2 separate regions of the Homo sapiens genome follow, and region 2 is linked to region 1. Evidence: promoter capture Hi-C in 16 types of primary human blood cells and fetal thymus (Javierre and others, 2016). All regions are on one chromosome and are shown on one strand. Each heading gives the region's core, a stretch centred on a gene start or on the middle of the fragment in contact. The rest is flanking DNA. Distances are from core to core; before and after follow the strand shown.

What was found. The method cuts DNA at HindIII sites, captures the fragments that hold promoters and counts their contacts. A CHiCAGO score of 5 or more calls a contact.
Region 2: a fragment that was not itself captured here is called in contact with the fragment with the promoter of MED6 in region 1 in 1 of 17 cell types (fetal thymus); the score reaches 5.6 in fetal thymus.

What each region holds. Positions count from the first base shown.
Region 1 is chr14:70,597,859-70,603,154 of GRCh38, reverse strand. MED6 (mediator complex subunit 6) reads left to right here and starts at 2,500. Exons shown (of 8, transcript NM_005466.4): 1 at 2,500-2,539. The coding sequence starts at 2,518. RefSeq lists an enhancer at 1,799-2,998. The HindIII fragment of the contact is 992 bases long and covers 1,654-2,645 here.
Region 2 is chr14:69,759,104-69,764,399 of GRCh38, reverse strand. No RefSeq gene overlaps it. Among named protein-coding and RNA genes, the nearest start is that of SRSF5, 5.4 kb to the left of the region's middle. The HindIII fragment of the contact is 6,711 bases long and covers 1-5,296 here.

The DNA.
Region 1 (5,296 bases), core at 1,251-3,750:
AGACCCCAGCCCCCCAACTCCCCATCACCACCACTTTCAATCCATGACCTTAGGTTTCTCTGGCATCTAGCTGGTGAATACAGAGAGAGAAAGTGAAGATGGAACCAGTGTTTTTCACTGTCTTGGCCTGGAGGTAACACTTATCACTTCCATTCACAGTCCCTTGATGAGAACTGGCTATGTAGCTCCATCCAGGTGCAAGGGTGGTGGAAAATATAGCTTAGCTGTATACCCAAGTAGATAATAAGTTTGGTGAAAAGCTAGCTCATCTGCCTCAGTCCGTCTCCTCATTTAAAAATGGGAGTAATAGCTTCTGCCTCATAAAATTGTTTTGAGGGAACAACTAGATAGTTCGTCAAAGTGCTTAGCACAGTGCCTCGTCCATAGTAAGTGGCTCAATAAGCACAACAAATACTTTTGACATCCATAAACAAATTTCCAGTCAGAACCTTTGTGGCATTCTACTCATTCAAATCTTTTAATAGCTTCCTATGTTCTTTGAATAAAAAATAAATTATTGACCAGGCTCTCTATCATCTGGCCCCTGCCTTCATTCCCAGTCTCTTTTCCCATCATTCATCCTTCACTCATACAACCCGGCTTACACTGGCCTTTCTGTGGTTCTCAGACCAACCCCTTTCCCACTGTAGGGTCCATGGTCCCCTCTGTCTGATATGCTTGTGCCCCAGCTCTTCACATGAGTGATTTGCTTTCATCTTCCAGGTCTCATCTCAGGTATCACTTCCTCAGAGAGGCCTGTCCTGACTGTCCTACCCAAAGTGGCTTCCTCCCTATCTTGTCTTCTCTTGTTTTTGTTACCACACTTTTTAATTTATATTTCTTTATTAACTGAAACAATTAATATAAAAGAAATAGAGATGGGATCTCGCTATCTTGACCAGGCTGGTCTCCAGCTCCTGGGCTCAAGCAATCCTCCCATCTTGGCCTCCCAAAGTGCTGGGATTACAGGCGTGAGCCACCTTGCCCTGTCTTCCTCAAGTTATCTTTCTAAAATGGAAGCTTGATCACATTTCTCCCATTGCCTACAAAATAAAGGTTGAGCTTCCAGGTCTTATTTACCATGCATACCATATGTTTTATTATCTACAGATCTGCATTCTGTCACTATTCTTCCTAATCTCCTTCTAGCCTAATCAAAACACAAGGAAACAAAAAACTAGAAAAACAAAACAAAAAGCTTTATGGATCACACTTTTTATTGGACACGATACTCTTCCTTTTTGCAATGTCCTCCCACTAGGCTCCCAACCAGGCCCTCCTGAAAAATTCTCTCTCAAAACTTTACTCTGTGCATGCACATACTTCTGTTGGGACACCTATTTTATACATACCATCTCAGGCAGAAAATTCCCAAACTGAAATGTACAGGCAACGTACTTTTATTCTACGGAGTTAACAAATTTTTAATTCCTTGTCTATGAGGTTGAAAATCCCAATTAAATTTCTGGTCTTCCCCTCTTGCTCCTGGGTTGTGGTTAAATTCTTGGGGAGTCTTCACAGTACCTAAGTTTTGGAGAAGATGTAGGCACCCGCCCTCATCCCTCCTTCAGATTTTGGCATCCTCTTCCTAGTATCTGTGTGTTGTTTGCATATTTCTGTATCGTTTTGCTTTTACAGAGCCACACTGAAGCTTGAGAATCTGAGGCTTTCTGTAGCTTCCCCGTACACAGAATCATTCCCTCTTTGGAGCCTTGCTACCTACTCCAGACTACTTGGAATGCAGACATTTGCTCATTACTCTGGGACCCAGGGGTATTCCCTTTCTCTTAATCTTATTAATATTTCACTTCAGAAGCATTTCCTGTGTTGTGAAATTTTTCTCAGAGGCTTCTTTAATTGGTTTAGATTTTTAATGGATTTAGTCACATAAAAGCCAATGACTCCCAAATTCTTAAGTCCTGTCCCATCCCAATACCTGAGGCAGGGAGAAAAATATAAATGACCATCGTTCCTAAATCTGATAGCTCAGTGGATACACCCGGGGAGCTTTTAAAATTAAGAGACACTCCCAAGCACAACTCTACAGCATCAGAATTTGTTTTCTTGACGATCACAGACGATCAAGGCAGAATTCTTCCATCAGTGGTGGGCGTGGGGCGGGACTCCACTCGGTCTTTCTGTCCTCTAAGTCTTCTAATTTTTTTCCCAGTAATCCGCCCTCCCGTTCTCCTTCTTTGGCCCATCCCTCTTCTAGTCTTTCCCTGCTCCCCTGCACCAATCTTTCTGCGTCCCGTCCCCTCCCATTCCCCTACCCCACCCCACCCCACCCCACCCCACGTTTCCCGCCTCCCGCGCCTCTCCCGCTTTCCGCCCCCTCGCGTCTCCTCCCCTCCCACCCGCACCTCCACCCCCTGCCTCTCTCCTGCCCGCCCCGCCCCCTCTTCCGCTCTACGTCCCTCCTCACCCATGCGCACTCTCTTCAACCCGCTGCTTCCGGCGGCCTAGGCTTACGTTTACTTTGCGCCGGAAAGAGAACCTGTAAACGCTCTCGGAATTATGGCGGCGGTGGATATCCGAGGTATACTGTATTGCTATATTTTGTCTCTTGATTGTCTGTGGACCAGTTTGGGATGTTATAGCTCGCGGTTTCAAGGTTTAGGTTCCTTTGTGTGAAGTCTCAAGCTTTTTTGAGTGGTTTTTGTGGACAACCCAAGGCTGTGATCTAGCGAAACGTTGACGAGTTTTTTTTTTTTTCTGAGTTCTTGGAGCGTCTCTTGGAAGCGTCGGAGAGAAGGGGTTGGAAGAAGCTCTGGGTTTTGAGCTTTCAGAGCTGGAGTTTTGTTCTACACACGTATCTCTGCAACAACATTAGGGCTATTCTATTGGAGTGAAGGAATGGCGTTTAGGCAGAGAAGGGAATGGGGTAATAAGCCAACTTGATTTGATTCATCTCTTGGGACTTGGCATGGTGGCTGCCTAATTCTTTAGACCGCGCCACACGGGTCCCTGAGCATGAATCCCAGATATTTTCTTTTTTTTTGAGTCGATAATACTTTACATCGAACGTCCAGCAATTATTATGGGCAGGGGTCGTATTTTTTTCACAGCTGAACTGCAGAAGTACTCAAATATTGAATCAGTCAGTGAATAAATGTATGGAGATGTCACCCCTTAACTGCTGCTTGATCTTGGGGAGCATGTAGAGTTGTTTTTGTGTATATAGTACTTGATTTTTAAAGGGAGATGTTTGAGATGCCTTTTTTTAATATTAACTGGATTGGGGTCTAACACATTTATTACAAATATTCTCATTTATACTTATCTGGCGATCTGCAGCACTTCTGGATCATGATTTTACATACGTGTCTTTCATTATTTATTTCATCACTTGCTGATGGTTAGAATGCTGTTAGAATGCTTGGGCTATGTCAACATGTTGCCTTGCTACAGAATAAAAAAGAGAAATATTTAGTTTATAAAATGTTTTACTTATAATTCAGATTGTTAGGATCATGGCAAAGACTCTAAAATAAGAGTGTGTTTGGTGTGTTAAAGGAACAGCAAGGAGGTCAGTGTGGCTGGAGGGTAGTGAGAGAGGATGTGGGAAGGAGATGAAGTCAGAAAGGTGTTGAAAGCTATGATAAGGTCTTTGGCTTTTCCTCTGAGTAAAACGCAGAGCCATTGGAGGGGTTTCCATCAGAGGAATGATGTGATCTGACTTTTTTTTAGGACTACATTGGCTGCTGGGAACAGTGTAGGAGGGCAAGGGTAGAATTAGGAAAACCAGTTAGGAGGCCATTTCTGAAAATGTTATTTCCTGGCCTGTTGTGTATTTGGTTATTGCATGATCCAGTTATGATGAACTATCTAAATGGTCTATACTAATTATTTGGTTATTAACGCACTTCATCTGTCTCCTCCTTTATTTTATAGCACACAAAGTACATTTTACCTTTATATAATTTTTCTCGGTTGAGTCACTTGGCTCAAAACTGCCTGTCACCTTGAATTAGGTCTGACTTCTTTGAAGATGCCTGAGGTAATGACAGTATAAGAGAGATTGAAGTTTTTCAACCAGTATTGTATAGGCATTTTGATGTTCATGATTTACACCTAGTGGTGTTCAGTACAGTCAGTGGTATGAAGCATCATGAAAGCCAATAGCCAATACAAGCTCATTTATTAAAAGTATCTAGCTCTATCATGTCTTTTTAAAAGCTATGATTTAATTCTACGCTAAATATGAAACCGTGTGGCTGTAGTTAAGGGAACTCTACTTCCTGTTTATCCCTTAGCTTTTACATCATTATCATCTCATCTACAATAATAGCTTCCTAACTTCTCTATCCCTAATTGAGAGATCTCAAACTGGTAGCTATAGATGTGTTCTCTTGGGCATACATGTTATTTGAAAATTTTGAATTCCTTGCCAGCATTAAGGATTTCCAATAAAAAAAAAAGTCCTTTCTAAATTTTAAATCTTATCACTTCTTCACCTAATGAAATTATTCTCTAAAGATATAATATACTTTATATTTTTACACCTCTGTATATACATTCTCTCTGCTTGGAATTACTTTGCCCTTTTCTCTGTGTAAGTTTTTATTTATTCTTTAACATACCGTGCTAAAACCCACCTTCTCTCCACATGAAAAATGATTTTCGTTTCCCCAGGTCCTCTGTAGTCTCGTAACACATTTCTTCATGTCTTTTTTTTTTGAGACGGAGTCTCGCTCTGTCGCCCAGGCTGGAGTGCAGTGGCGCGATCTCAGCTCACTGCAACCTCCGCCTCTTGGGTCCAAGTGATTCTCCTGCCACAGCCTCCCGAGTAGCTAGGATTACAGGTGTCCACCACCATGCCCGGCTAATTTTTTGTTTTGTTTTTTTTCTTTTTTTGAGACGGAGTTTCACTCTTGTTGCTCAGGCTGGAGTCCAATGGTGTGATCTCGTCTCACCACAATCTCCGAGACCTTCTGGGTGCAAGCGATTCTCCTGTCTCAGTCTCCCAAGTAGCTGGGATTATGGGCATGCACAAACACGCCAGGCTAATTTTGTATTTTTAGTAGAGACGGGGTTTCTCCATGTTGGTCAGGCTGGTCTCAAACTCCCAACCTCAGGTGATCCACCTACCTCAGCCCCCTAAAGTGCTGGCATTACAGGCTGAGCCACCGCACCCGGCCAGAATTTTTTGTATTTTTAGTAGAGACAGGGTTTCACCATGTCTTTATCATAAGACTTAATCATGTTATTGCTTTCTTGCATAATCTCTTCTGTTACATCATGAGAGTGTGTTGGTTAGGATCTATGTCATCCTTATATTCATAGTGCCTACTAC
Region 2 (5,296 bases), core at 743-3,242, 840 kb after region 1:
CAGTTGCATAGGCTGTACAGGAAGCATCACTGGGAGGCCCGAGGAAACTTACAGTCGTGGCAGAAGGCAAATGGGAAGTGAGCACTCTCTTCACATGATGGCAGGAGAGAGAGAGAAAGCAAGGGGTGGAGTGCCTCACACTTTTAAAAACCATCAGATCTTGTGAGAACTCACTATCACAAGAACAGAATGGGGGAAATCCGCCCCATGAGCCAATCACCTACCACCAGGTTCCTCCCCGAACACTGGGTATTACAACTCAACATGAGATTTGGGTGGGGACACAGAGCCAAACCATATCACTATTGGACTGTTTCTTACCAATTTCTCTAATAAATACAAAGTCATCTTCCATGATCAGAATTACTCTTCCTCCTATGTGTTCCTACAATATTCTGTTTATACCTCTGTTATACAGTCATCACTGATTCATATATGTTATTCATGTTTTCCAGAAATGCACAGCACCAAAAAGACTCAATATTTATAGACCTGGATTTGCATGAGCATTTTTTTCAGGTCGTCCTATTCCTATATTAATGTTTCAACAAAATGGCTTGGCATCTTTTTCTTAAGACATCCAAATTAGAAGCAAATCTTTTTTTTTTTTTTTTTGGAGACGGAGTCTCTCTCTGTCACCCAGGCTGGAGTGCAGTGGTGTGATCTTGGCTCACTGCAACCTCCGCCTCCCGGGTTCAAGCAATTCTCCCGCCTCAGCCTCCCGAGTAGCTGGGACTACAGGCACACGCCACCATGCCTGGCTAATTTTTTGTGTTTTAGTGGAGTGGTTGTGGGGGAACAAAAGAAGAAGAATATCTGATAGCACATGAAAATTATATGAAATTTAAAGGTCAGTATCCATAAATGAATAAATTTTTGGAACACAGCCACTCCTGTTCATTTACTTATTGCCTATATCTGTTGTGCTACAAAGGCGGGGCTGAGTAGCTACGGTAGAGGCCATATGGCCTGAAAGCCTAAAATATTTACTGTCTGGTCCTTTACAGAAAACATTTGCTGATGGGGTGGGGTAGATAAGAGAGATTGATTAGTAAGTACAAACATACAGTTAGATAGAAGGAATAAGATCTAATATTCAATCGCAGAATAGGGGACTATATAAACAACAATGTATTTTATATTTTAGAACAGCTAGAAGAGAGGACTTAAAATGTTCCCAACACATAGAAGTGATAAACCCACAAAGTAATGAATATCCTAAATACTCTGACTTGATCATTACACATCCTATGCATGTAATAAAATATTTCATATGCCCCCAAGTATGTAGAAATTATATGTATCAATAGAAAAATTTTAAATTATTTTTAAAAATCATTTTCTGACCCTTGAACTGATTCCTAGATTTTCAACTGCTCTATGAATGCTCCACCCAACCCCCTTTGTCAGATAATAAAACTGTAAACAAAGAAAAACTGAAAACAAAGAAACAGGATTTGATCTTTATTTTTAAAATAAAGTTTGATTCCTGTTATAAAAAGAAGTATACATATATGCTTATTATAGGAAAAATGTTCAACAGGAAAATATTGAAAGAGGAAAACACAATCCTGTTTCACCAAGTCAACCTCTGATTGTAGTTTGTTGTATTTCCTTCTTGTGGGGTTTTTTTTTTTCTGTTTCATGTTTTTCAGTACAAAAGTAGTACCTCATCTTTTTTTTTTTTTAGACATATTCTCGCTCTGTCGCCTGGCTGGAGTGCAGTGGCGTGACCTCGGCTCACTGCATCCTCTGCCTGGCGGGTTCAAGTGATTCTCCTGCCTCAGCCTCCCCAGTAGCTGGGACTACAGGCACATGCCACCACGCCCAGCTAATTTTTTGCATTTTTTAGTAGAGACAGGGTTTCACCATATTGGCCAAGCTGGTCTCAAACTCCTGACCTCATGATCTGCCCACCTCAGCCTCCCAAAGGGCTGGGATTATAGGCGTGAGCCACTGTGCCCGGTCAAAAATATTGAAAGAATGAAACACAACCCTGTCTCAGCAACTCAACCTCTGATTGTAGTTTGCTGTATTTCCTTTTTGTGGGTTTTTTTTTTCTGTTTAATGTTTTTCAATAAAAAAGTAGTACCTCATCGTTTTTTAAAACATAGATATGAGATTTTTAAAAGTCATCCCTATTCCCAGCCCCTAAGAGAAAACTACTTAGCATTATTGAACTTTCCCTTTCGTGTTCTTCTATAAGAACAATTGTGTTTTCAAAATATGAATCATCGTCATACATATACTTGGTTTTATGAGGGCTTCTTAATTCCTAAAACTTAACCATGTGCATTTGCCATGTTTCTTTGTCTTAATATTTTATGATCATGAGTATATATTCAAATTTTTACTGTTATTTTCACTTTACACAACTACATGCTTGGGGAAAATATTCATTCTGACCAACTTTTCTGTTTTTCTGAAAATGTCTTAAATGTCAGCAGATGCTTAAAAATTGCTATCCAAAAAATCCCAACACGAAGAAAAAGTGTTACTTCCTTGCCTCTACCTTATAATTCTAAAGATTTTTCAAAAGAATAACTATATTTAAGTAATTTCTCTTAGAAATATATGGGGTTTGTTAATGTCCAGTTTTTTACTCAGGTTCACCTTTATATACCTACCTGACTTCCTTAGATTGTTACATTCTGATTTTTGTTGTTGTTGTTTAACTCAGTGTACAATATTTAAAATACCTATGAACTTACTAATTTGAGTGCCTAGATCAGAAGGCATCCCATAGCAAGGAGTGTGTAAGAGACAGAGCAACAAAGGGCTGAACTCACTTTCTTTTTTTTTGAGACAGAGTCTCACTCTGTTGCCCAGACTGGAATGCAGTGACACGATCTCAGCTCACTGCAAGCTCCGCCTCCCGGGTTCACACCAGTCTCCTGCCTCAGCCTCCCGAGTAGCTGGGACTACAGGTGCCCACCACCATGCCCGGCTAATTTTTTTTTTTTTTTTTTAGTGGAGACGGGGTTTCACCATGTTAGCCAGGATGGTCTCGATCTCCTGACCTCGTGATCCACCTGCCTCGGCCCCCCAGAGTGCTGAGATTACAGGCGTGAGCCACCGCGCCCGGCCTAAACTCACTTTCATGAGAAACCCACTCTCTCAATAACAAACCCACTCCCATTATAACGGCATTAATCCATTCACGAGGGCAGAGCCTTCATGACCTAATCACCTCTTAAAGGTCCTACCTCTCAACACTGTTACATTGGGGATTAAGTTTCCAATACACAAAGTTTAGCCAACACATTCAAACCATAGCAGCACTCAAGGATTTATGAAAAAGAGAAGTAACCAGACAAGGGCCATATCTACCCAAGGACCACCCCCTAATGCCTACCCTCTAAAACTCCTCCACCCCCACAAGCTATCAGGAACTGGAAACTGACTAATTACTGGGCTATTTCCTTTTTTGATATCAAGAGGGAAGCCTCAAAAGCATGAACTCCCTAAAGCAATTCGTAACAGTGCCATTGTAGAGACCCTGCCAAATCAGCCCCAATCCTGGGAATTATTCCTTCCCTGATATAATTATTAGGGGCAAGGTACACAGAATTAATCCAGTGAAGAACATTTGATACCTTATCTGTTCTATAAATCAGACCACCCACAAGTGGGCCATGTTTAGTCCAGAAAAAAGTGGCTTACTCTTGCACAAAAAGTATGGAAGGGAATGGGAAGCTCTGCCATATTTTTCTTCCTGGCTACTGTACCTAAAACAAAGTGTCCTCTTTTAAGAGCTTGGATATTGAGTACTCATCCAAATGGGCCATGGCTTGGGTTAAGGAGAATTGAACTAAGATATCCCACTGCTGAAGCAATTAGACCATCCTGTTGAGCTCTGTAGAGAATTGGTTGAATTCACAGCGAAATACCTTTAGGAATACAGGGCTACAGAAACCAGGAGCCTGACTAAAAGCCAGTATCTTAGTCTGTTTGTCCTGCTATAACAGAATACCACAGACTGAGTAATTTATAAAGAAAAGAAATGTATTTCTCACAGTTCTGGAGGCTGGGAGTCCAAAACCAAGGTGCCAGCATCTGATGAGAGCTACTCTCTGTTTCCAAGATGTCACCTTCAATGCTGCACCTTCTAGAGGAGAGGAAAGTTGTGTCCCCACATGGCAGAAGACAAAAAGGCAAGAGGAGTAAGTTCCCTCCAACAACCTCCTTTATAACATCATTAATTCGTTCATGAGGGTGGAGCTCTCATGACCTAAACCCTCCCCAAAGGCCCCATCTCTCAACATTGTTGAATTGGGAATTGCATTTCTAACACATTAATTTTGGGAGATAACTTCAGACCATAGGTGCCAGTGACCAGGAAAGGCCCAGCATCTCCATCATTAGCACATAAAACTAAGACAGCTTCTGGGTCTAGGTCTGGGGCATATAGCTACCTTGATCAGGCTGGGTATAGTCCACTCTCATGGCTTCTGCTGTCCTAATTCCTGATTAAGCCTCATGAGCTCCCAGCCAAAGACTCTATTCATAATGTCAGGGTATATTGTATAAATAGCTGAGTGTTGCTTAAAACAGAAGCAAGGAAAAAAGAAGCTGAAGGTGGACATTAGGAGGATGGTAGTAGATCTTAACTACCATGTTAATGAGCTTATACTCTACCCAGTGGGCACCAAGTAGATGCCACAAGGTTTTACACAAGAGATAACATGATCAGATTTATGTTTTAGGCGGGAAAGGCTGCGTGGGGGACGGTGGCCAAAACCAGTTAGGACTCTTTATGTAACAAGGAACAGAATCCCAGTATAACCACCTTAAGAAAAGTTTTGGCTGGGTGTGGTGCCTCATGCCTGTAATCCCAGCACTTTGGGAGGCCAAGGCAGTCAGATCACCTGAGGTCAGGAGTTCAATACCAGCCTGGCCAACATGGTGAAACTGTGTCTCTACAAAAACACAAAAGCTAGCTGGGCATGATGGTGGGTGCCTGTAATCCCAGCTACTTGGGAGGCTGAAGCGGGAGAATTGCTTGAACCTGAGAGGTGGAGGTTACAGTGAGCTGAGATTGCACCATTGCACTCCAGCCTGGGCGACAGAGTAAGACTCTGTCTCAAAAGAAAAAAAAAAAGTTGTATTTGTTGGTTAGTATAACTGAACATTTTATACACAGGCACACTGTGGGCTTGGCTTGATACAGAGTTCAAGTGGTGTCTACAGCATCCATCTCTCGGCTCTGCTTCCCCTGAGAATCAGCTTCATTCCCAGGCTGGTTCACCTTGCGTTGGCAAAATGCCTGTAGTTCTAGCCTCATGGCCTCACACCA